Regions from separate parts of the Homo sapiens genome. Here region 2 is linked to region 1. The links are contacts of gene promoters, found by promoter capture Hi-C in blood cells and fetal thymus (Javierre and others, 2016). All regions are on one chromosome and are shown on one strand. The core of a region is centred on a gene start or on the middle of the fragment in contact, and the rest is flanking DNA. Distances in the headings are between cores, read along the strand shown. Region 1 holds the start of CARMIL1 (capping protein regulator and myosin 1 linker 1). Region 2 overlaps CARMIL1 (capping protein regulator and myosin 1 linker 1).

Region 1 (4,992 bases), core at 355-2,854:
TAATTTCCATTTACTGCAGAAAAAATATATTTAATGCATTAAGGAAATGTCTAGCTTAAAGAAATTGCCCACTTTTGAAACAAATGGTTGGAGGCCTGAGGTCCAAAGCTCTAAAATCAGTTAACAAATGTTTATTGAACACCTATTTTGAACTAGGCTGTTGAAGAAGTTCAAAAGTCTAAGATAAATTCCCACTTTCAACTCACCTACAGTCTAGTTGGGCAGAAAAAATCCAAACTCAGGGGACAATGCAAGAGTTAGATAGTAAAACCAGACAAATACACAAGCAATGAAACACGACACCATATGGTTGGGTTTAGAAAAGTGTTTCAGGCAATACATATTGTAGAGGCTTAGGGATCACAGTAATCTGAAAATCCCTGGAAAATATTCACAAAGAAGGTAGACCATTGGGATGGGTTTGAAAACATAGATAAGAATCAGATAACCTTAAGAGGAAGGAGGAAGCAAACAGTGAGTCTGGTTGTAATAGAGAAGGGAGTGGGAGAGGTTAAGGAGGGTGGGAAGGGGCCAGGTTGGCAAATCCTTAGTGGTAAGGCCTGGCTGTGGGGCTGAAGATGATTCTAAGGGGTCCAAGGTCAACAGCAGTGTTTAAAATTAGATTGCCAAGTGCATGGATTCCCTTTCCTTTCCTCCTTTTCTGTCCTTTAAAAGCAGAACCTGATTAGACAGTCTGGGACATTCCCAGCCCTAGGCTAAAAAGCAGCGATTGAGGCACAAAGTATTCTTGGCCCTGAAGTTGAACCTCTGGGGATGGAGCTCAGGGAAGTCATAGGGAGTTTGGGCCCAGGTAGGATCAGACCTATCCGCAGGCTTACATAGGCTCCAGTGATTAAAGCTCAGCTTCCTGAATATGCCCCGAGGATAAAAGAGACTTTTCCGAGTGAAAGGCATTTTCCAAGGCGCTCTCAACGGGAATGTCTGAGATAGCGAACTGCGGCTGCAGAGCACCAGCTGAACGCACACACACAAGTGTCTTCTCACGGTATGATTAGTGTTCACAGGTTTCGTCTAGCTCATCAGAAATGAAGAATAGCGATGATGAAGTGACATGTCACCGGGAGGGTTGAAAAAGAAAAAGTGCGTAAGAGGGTCCCAAAAAGAACCAGCTTCCGTGTAGACGGGTCTGCAGAATCTGCCGTCTCCCGTCTTCTGGGTCCCCTGGCCCGCCCGGAGTGGGGACAAGGAAATGGAAAGCCCGGCTCACCCGGCTCTCCTCCCTCGCAGCCAGCAGATGGCTCCCGGGCTCTCTCGCGAGCCCGCTCGCCCCCTCTCCAGACGCAGGGCTTTTGCGGTTTGGGAGGGAGGCTGCGAGGAGGGGCGCGGTGCCCGCCGCCGCCACCGCAGCACCGCACAGCGTCTCTCCTGGGGGTGCGACCTACGCCGGGGACCCAGCGCTCGGGCACCGGAGGCCGGCCTCGCACCGGTGCGGAGGCCGGCTCTCGCGAGGTGAGGAGGAAACGCAGGAGGAAGAGGAGAAGGAGAAGGAGGAGAAGGAGGAGGGCCGGAGCTGCCCCCGCCCAGCCGGAGCCCGGCAGGAGCGCGAGGAAAACCTACTCCCCCCGCCCCGCGCCGCTCTCCCCGCCCTCTCCCACGCCTTCCGCTTTCACCTAGGGCTGTAGGTGCGGCGCGGAGGCTGGGCGGGAGCTACGCCGGCCCAAGCCCCGCCGGGGACCAGCGAGCCGGGAGGAGGAGCAGGCGCCACAGCCGCCCCGCGCCCCGCGCCCGCTTGTAATCCGGTCCGCTCCTTATTCAGCCGCCGGGAACTGCGAGGAGGCGTCATGTAGCAGCAGCAGCAAATCCGCCTCGCATTTGCAACTCTTTTTTTTTTTTTTGGTGGGGCGGGGGGCGCGCGGCAAAATTCTGTCTCCGCCCCCCCTTTTCTTGCCCACTTCCATTTGCAAGCTGCATCTGCCTCTCTAAAAAAATTGAGGAGTTCGGGGAAGGGCAGGGGGCCATAAATCAGAGTTGGACCTGCAATAACCCCCACACCTACAGGGCAACCATGACCGAGGAGAGCTCTGACGTTCCCAGGGAGTTGATAGGTAAGATTCACGCGGTTGTTGGTTTTCCACCTTCCTCTGCGTACTCCTCACCTCTCTCTCCCTTCCCACCTCTGCTTTCCCGCAGGTCTCGAGAAGTCTTGGCGCCCCTTAGGGCAGAGTGGTGTTGGGCAGGGTCACTGGGGGTGCCGGGAAGTTTGTTCCCATCCGACCGCCTGTAGAGCCAAGTGCAGAGAGGGAAGGCTTCGGGGAGGAATCGGGAGTCCTCGGGAGGTGGGTGGGAGGAGGGTCTCGACTGTGAGCCCTGGGCACCTCCTCTTGCCCGGAAGCGGGGATCCAGGTTGGCGAAAGAAGGGGGCGGGCCATCTTAGACTTGGGAGTTCTGCAAGCGAGGGGAGCCCTTTACAGCTCCCAGCCCACTGCCCCAAACTCGGGAAAGTCCGGGAAAGCCTATTGGAAGGACAGGTGGCGAGCGCACAGTAGGTCGTCTCCGGCACGTGTCAGGCGCTTTCCTGAAAATGCCCCGCGGGAGGTGATCTTCTGACACGCAGACTTGGGGGAGTGGGCGCTAGTCTGGTAAAATGACTGGGCTTGGCAAGGTGTGGCTTGGTGTAGCCAGCTGGGAGCGAAAGGGTTACAGGGCTGACGCAGACTCAGGCCAGGAAATAGAGGGTTAATGATAAAAGCCTTATTTTAATAATGATTAACCTACCGATTCTCCCTATAGGGGATCTCTTAGGGAACCCGTGTGTGTTACGCTGTGCAAGGTGACCCATTGTTTGAGTACCTTGAGGTTTTTTTTTTTTTGGTGGTGGTGGGGGCGGGGCTGGTTAAGTCTTGGGGTTTAACTTAATTATCTGGAGGGTTAAAATGGCAGAGCTGAAATAGGATGGGAGAGTGTTCTGAAAACCTAGCGTTTAAGCATGTATATGTGTGTAGCATGTTATACTGTAACAAGGTATGTGCGTCTGTGTACAGATGTGTTTTGAGCCCTAGTGACCTATATTCCCTCCTGTACCATTCTTGGCACACTACACAGCCTACAGCTCACAAAGATGATGTTTAATCGGCGCTGACAACAAGAGGAAGTTCTGAGCACCCGTTGATCTCCATGTGTGGAATTTGCCCCTCTGTTGTTTCTTTTAGCTAATAATACTTTGGAGGAATTTGTGTATGCCCTTCCGTTGGTGACTGTTAACTCAGCAGGTAAAACTTGATGTAGAGAGGCTGTTGCTAGGTTTGTATGGAAGCCCCTACTTCTGCTGAATTACAGACAAACCTGATCTTTTACCAGAATTTACAGTATGAAATTATTCACAGACGCACGCGCGTGTGCGCGCGCGCACACACACACACACACACACACACACACACACGCACCTCTCATCATGATCCCAGCAGATCCTCTTCTCTCTCCCCAACCCTGTGGAGTCTGCATCTTTTGCTGGAGTGAGTGACACATCCGGTTCTGGGAGGCTGCGACCTTTCCAACACCCCAAGCAAACGCCAGAGGCTCTGAAGACGCCTCCAGAGGTCCTGAGAATGAGTGTAGGGCAGGGCTTGCCTGGCTGGTCAGGGGATAAGGATGGCTAAAGTGGGTGGCAGATTTTTACTTTATATAAGGAGTTGTCCTTAAGTCTGGAAATGGAAAGTGTAGGTAATTACTTAGGCCCAAGAGAAAGAGTGAAGGGTAGAGTGGAAATAAGGTGTCTGGGTTTCTATTCATGGTTCTCAAAAGGAATAGTTTGTATATTTTAAAAGTTGAGTTTGACCTTTATCTTGAAATGGAATTTTTGTTTTTATTAAGTATTGCCTATCTCTTTCAAGAGAGTGACATATTATGCCCGATATGATTTTTCTGGGCCTTTCAGTGGTCAAGTTAGGCTGGGATAGAATAAATACCTGCACCTGCTTTCCTCTAAATTCAAGTGCTCACAAGAGTTCTGCTCTGATCAATTCAAAATGGCGACCGACCACATGAAAACCTCTATATATTCCCTTAAGATTCCCTCAAGATATTTAAAAAGTGTTACAGACTTGGCTGAGCGTGGTGGCTCACCCCTGTAATCCTAGCACTTTGGGAGGCCGAGGCAGGTGGATCACCTGAGGTCGGGAGTTGGAGACCAGCCTGACCAACATGAAGAAACCCGGTCTCTACTAAAAATACAAAAATTAGCTGGGCGTGGGGGCACGTGGCTGTAATCCCAGCTACTCGGGAGGCTGAGGCAGGAGAATCACTTGAACCCGGGAGGCGGAGGTTGCCGTAAGCCGAGATCAAGCCATTTCATTCCAGCCTGGGCAATAAGAGTGAAACTCCATCTCAAAAAAAAAAAAAAAAAAAAAAAGTGTTATAGACTTTATGTAGAAACAATTTAAATGTAGAGAAGAATAAGAAGACTATATGTCACTCCTGTTACCACTTAGAGGTAGTTATTTTAAAGGGTATATGATTTTCCAGTCTGTTTCCATGTGTATATGTTCTTAAGTCAATTTCAGATGCCCATTTCCCGCAATTCTTTTTTAGGGGAGGGAGGAGTGGCCTGTGCTTGTTTCTCGAGTTCTGATAAGATAGGAGCTTTGTGAAGAACTCATAGTGCAGTGAGCTCTTCTACATGTTCCCTTGCCCCAAACATTCCACCTCCTTGCTGTTCCTTGAACAGGCTGTGCTTTCTCAGATTTCCATGCTGTTCTTTATGCGTACACTGTCTTTTTCTCCCCGTTTTCACTCTTTATCTCAGCAGCTCTAAACTTTCATGGCGGTATTTCCAAGAAGAAAATTTTGATTACCCCTTATTAAACATATATTTGTTAAACTACATGCTCCATTTAGTGTGTATAATCTAAAACACAAACTGAAACACACATTGTAAGTAGAAATGAAAATTCTATTTTCTTCTTTCATCTCAATGGATTATATTGTACACTCTACTTTGGAAACCAGTGATCTTATTTCCTATGCCTTCAAGAT
Region 2 (5,251 bases), core at 290-2,789, 90 kb after region 1:
GGCACATGCCACCATACCCGGCTGATTTTTGCATTTTTAGTAGAAATGAGGTTTCCCCATGTTGGCCAGGCTGGTCACAAACTCCTGACCTCAAGTGATCTGCCTGCCTTGACCTCCCAAAGTGTTGGGATTACAGGCGTGAGCCACCGCACCCGGCTGCATTCAGACCTTTCCACGTCAGCTGAACTATCAGTAAAATTCTGAGCACAACTCTGAGAGAAATTCAGAGTTCAAATCAGTTGGTATGCCAGAAGCAGAGAACCCTGATCCTTACTGGAGTTGACTAGGACACCTTCTCTTTATTAGTTAAAGGTATGGCTAAATTTAAATAACTAATAGAGGTCAGACACGACTTACTTAGTTTCTGAGAGTAGTTGTTAACTGTCCTTTTCCCAAGGGAAATAAGCTAAGCTGAATTACTTAAACCACACTTTTTCCGTTTCTTAAAATGATTTCCATTTCCCTGCCCTAGGAAAAGTAGGCGGCTGCAGAGAGGTTGTGACAGAATTATAAAGCTATTTGAGTTAAATTAGCCCAGTACATCACTCTTAGAGCACATTGAACAGACAGCTAACACCTCCTGATAAGCACCAGCTACATACAGATCAATGTTTTCAAATGAAACCAAAGACATACATTCAATTTAGGGAGACAAAACAGACATTACTCAGGAATCTCATAGAACCCCAGATGATTATGATATAACCAATAACATAAGACCCACCTGATTGGCAGTTCTGTGAATCACCCTAAAATCTCTACTAAAATGGTTAAGTCCTGTACTCTTTACTCTGGAGTCCTCTTGTCTACCTTTCAGAAATGGTTGAAATATTTAGATGTGGAATTAATGAGATTTTACATGTCTACACTCTTGCTTTATATATTTTAATGTGATAAATGGCCTCATGTATGTATATTCTTCCTTGTCCCAGACTCATGTTTTTTGAGTAAAATCTTTAATTGGTCAAAATGTGTTGTATTGATCAGTATGTTATATAGAATGATGTACTTATTGATTTACTGTAAATAATTACAGTGGAGCAATTCTGTTAGGAGGGTTCGTTTTTGCCATTTTAGCAAGGAAAATTTGCCAGTTATTTTGGCTGAATTTAAAACCCCTTACATGATTAGATCACATGTCTATTTCTGCTGTAATAGAGGAGTGTAAGTAACTAAGTTTATCTGAACTTTTAGGAGTCTCCTTTTAGGCTCAAATTAGTTAGTCTGGTGTCTATACAGGGCCTTTGTTAAAGACTGGATTTAAATATTGGGTGGATCTGTCTTGGATCCTGTTCTAGGGAACGCTTCTTGGAAGTCCCAGACGGGGAACTCATCATAACCTGGTTTTACCCCGTAGCATGGCCCTGTGCCATCGACACCATTAGAGCAAGGCTCAGTGTCTCGAGCTTTAGTTTAATTCTCAACCCATTGATCGCTCTTGCAGTCAGCTTAACAGTTGAATGCAATGCTGTATTTTGTTTTTTTTTTTTTTTTTTAAAGCTAGTCCAGAAATTACCACAGCTGCTTCTCAGTTAATCAGATGCTTAAGACTCCCGTTTCCACATTGCTTGGCTGCTACATTTTTATAACACCACAGCTGTCTGGATCTAGCTTGTGCCCCTCGCCCCCCTTACCCCTTTCCATCTGCCACCTCTCACCACTTCCTCACTTGCTATGTATCGAGGTGGCAAATTCCCAAGTAAACTGCTGACTTTCCTCCCCTGCAGGAAGGCTGGGCCTTTGGTTCACAGTAGCCTCTTTCACCAGAACTCTCGTAGGCTAGGAACCAACCCTGGAGTACTGCTGCTCTCAGAAGTGCCCACATTTGCCTCTGGAGCTTGCTTTGTGTGTTTGGGTGTTGAATTTTCCCCTTGACTTGGAAACTTTTGTGAAGAAACTGAAAGGTGCTTTCAGATTAAGCAGCTGTGGCTCCCCCTTCCAGCCACGCTCTTTGTTTTTAAAGCTCAAAGTCTTATTTGAAGTGAGGAGAGAAGGTAGGTAGGTTGCAGTCCAGGTTTTTCTGTTTGTGAATGACGTTGCTTACCTTGGCTGATTCCTTTTCCTAATGACGGTGCTTCTACTCTTGGCCTTTTGCCATGTGTGTACCATCCACTGGGAGCTGTTTTCCCTTGTCCTTTAAAGCGTATCCGACTCTATCTCCAGTGCTCTTCTAGCAAGCTGTTACAGTAAGCATAAAAACAAGCGCATTAAACTAGGAATAAAATGCCAAGTTTCTGTCTCCTTGCCAACCTCATTAGAAAACAGTGATAAAGTATGTATGCATATAATTACAGTAATTAAACATTTGAAACCAGCTCAATAGGGAACCTTCTTAATGCTTTTATGAGTGTGATATTTTCATTTCAGAACTGGACTCTGTGTGGCTTCTATTTTATTCAAGACCTTCATCTTTATGGGGGTAGGCGGGGGAAGGTGCTCCTTTTGACCACAGCGCCAAGCATCTGCAAGAGTAGCTTTATTACACATGTATTAGCAGGGAACAGAGCAACCTTTCCATCACTGTGTTTATTTTTGAGGGTGTGTAGCCAGTTGTCAAATATAAAGACATGAATGGCCTGGCTAGTAAAGAAGACGTGGAAAATAATTGTAAACTGTCTGCCATGATGTGCTTGCTCTTAAGAGCAAAGGACAGGAATATTTTGTCTTTTGTACTGCCCCGACGGAGTCATACAGCCCCTGCATTTGTGTGGGATGATAGAGTAGCACTATGGGGTTTGTCTGCCTCGTAGCTCTTCCACCCTGAGAGCTATTCTCACTTAGGAAGTGGAAAGTCTAAAGGACCAACTGTAGGTTGAACCAGGAGTTTCATTCACTAAACATATTTTTTTTTTAGTTGATATATATATATGTAAAATTTCAATAGCTTTTGAGGTACAAATGGTTTTTGGTTACACGGACAAATTGTATAGTGGTGAAGTCTGCGATTTTAGTGCACCCATCATCTGTGTATATTGTACCCAATATGTAGCTTTTTTTTATCCCTCATCTCTCTCCTCCCCTCCCCTCTTCTGAGTCACCAAAGTTCGCTAAATGACTCTGTATGCTTTTGTGTACCCATAGTTTAGCTCCCACTTATAAGTGAGAACATACGGTATTTGGTTTTCCATTCCTGAGTTACTTCACGTAGAATAATGGCCTCCAGCTCCATCCAAATTGCTGTGAAAGATATTTCATTCTGTTTTATGTCTGAGTAGTATTCCATAGTGTATATAGACCACATTTTCTTTATCCATTCATCAGTTGATGGGCACTTAGGTTGGTTCTGTATCTTTGCAATTGTGAATGGTGCTGTGATGTGTGCACGTGTCTTTTTGATAGAATTACCTCTTTTCCTTTTAGTAGTTGCCCAGTAGTGAGATTGCTGGATGGAATGGTATCTTTACTTTCAGTTCTTTAAGGAATCTTCATGCTGTTTTCCATAGAGGTTGTACTAATTTACATTCCCACCAGCAGTGTATAAGTAAGTGTTCTCTTTTTACCACATCCATGCCAACATCTATTGTATTTTACCTTTTTAGTAATGGCCATTCTGGCTGGGGTAAGGTGGTATCTTGTTGTGGTTTTAATTTGCATTTCCCTGATGATCAGTGATGTTGAACATTGTTTTGTATATTTGTTGGCCATTTGTATATCTTCTTTTGAGAAATGTCTATTCATGTCATTTGCCCACTTTTTGATGGGATTATTTGGTTTGTTTTCTTGCTAATTTATTTGAGTTACTTGTAGATTGTGGGTATTAGTTCTTTGTAGGATGCATAGTTTGCAAATATTTTCTCCTACTCTGTGGGTCATCTGTTTACTCTGATGGTGATTTGCTGTGCAGAAGCTTTTTAGTTTAATTAGGTTCTATTTATTTATTTTTGTTTTTCTTGCATTTGCTTTTGGGGTCTTAGTCATAAATTCTTTACCTAGACCAATGTCCAGAAGTTTTTCCTAGGTTGTCTACTGTAATTGGTTTCAGCTCTTAGATGTAAGTCTTTGATCCATCTTGAGTTGATTTTTGTATATGGTGAGAGATAGGGATCCAGTTTCATTCTTATACATGTGGCTATCCAGTTTTTTCAGCACCATTTGTTGAATATGGTGTCCTTTCTCCAATTTATGTTTTTGTATACTTTGTCAAAGATCAATTGTGGTTGTAAGTATTTGGTTTTATTACTGTGTTCTCTGTTCTGTTACATTGGTCTATGTATCTACTTTTATACCTATACCGTGCTGTTTTGGTAACTATAACCTTGTAGTATAATTTGAAGTTAGGTAATGTGATGCCTTCATGTTTGTTCTTTTTGCTTAGGATTGTTTTGGCTATTCAGGTTCTTTTTGGTTCCATATGAATTTTTTTTTCTAATTCTGTGAAAAATGATGTTAGTATTTTGATAGAAGTTGCATTGAATCTCTAGATTGCTTTGGGTAGTATGGCCATTTTCATGAAATTGATTCTTCCAATTCATGAGGATGGGATATTTTTTCCATTTGTTTGTATTATCTTTGATTTCCTTCAGCAGTGTTTTGTCGTTCTTGAAGAGATTTTTCACCTCCTTGTTAAGTATATTTCTAGGTAATTTATTTTATTTTTGCTGTTATTATAAAAGGGATTGAGTTCTTGATTTGATTCTGAATTTGATTGTTGTTGGTGTATGGCAGTACTACTGATTTGTGTACATTGATTTTGTAACCTGAGACTTCACTGAGTTCATTTATCAAATCTAGGAGTCTTTTGGAGGAGTCTTTAGGGTTTTCTAGGTATATAATCATACCACTGGCAAACAGAGATAGTGTAATTTACTCTTTTCCAATTTGGATACCCTTTATTTTTCTCTCTTGCCTGATTGCTCTGACTAGGGCTCCTGGTGCTATGTTGAATAGAAGTAGTGAAAGTGGGCATCCTTGTCTTGTTCCAGTTCTGAAGGGCAATGGTTTCAACTTTTCCCCTTCAGTATGATGTTGGCTGTGAGTCTGTCATACATGGCTTTTATTATTTTGAACTATATTCCTTCTATCCCTAGTTTGTTGAGAATTTTTATCATAAAGGGATGCTGGATTTTATCGAATGCTTTTTCTGCATCTATTAAGATGATCAATAGATTTTTGTGTTTTTAAAAAATTCTGTTTATATGATGTTTCACATTTATTGACTTGCATTTGTTAAATCATCCCTACATCCTGGATGAAACCCACTTGATCATGGTGAATTATCTTTTTGATGTGCTGTTGGATTCAGTTTGCTAGT

What was found. Contacts are between HindIII fragments. The CHiCAGO score rates a contact against its expected background, and 5 or more counts as called.
Region 2: a fragment that was not itself captured here is called in contact with the fragment with the promoter of CARMIL1 in region 1 in 1 of 17 cell types (naive CD4 T cells); the score reaches 6.3 in naive CD4 T cells.

The regions. Positions count from the first base shown.
Region 1 is chr6:25,277,770-25,282,761 of GRCh38, forward strand. CARMIL1 (capping protein regulator and myosin 1 linker 1) reads left to right here and starts at 1,605. Exons shown (of 37, transcript NM_017640.6): 1 at 1,605-2,066. The coding sequence starts at 2,027. RefSeq lists a silencer at 1,333-1,802. The HindIII fragment of the contact is 9,381 bases long and covers 1-4,992 here.
Region 2 is chr6:25,367,902-25,373,152 of GRCh38, forward strand. All of the region lies in intron 2 of CARMIL1 (capping protein regulator and myosin 1 linker 1), which reads left to right. It overlaps LOC124901281 (a long non-coding RNA gene), which reads right to left. Exons shown (of 3, transcript XR_007059512.1): 2 at 2,045-2,178. Among named protein-coding and RNA genes, the nearest start is that of CARMIL1, 91 kb to the left of the region's middle. The HindIII fragment of the contact is 4,612 bases long and covers 1-3,845 here.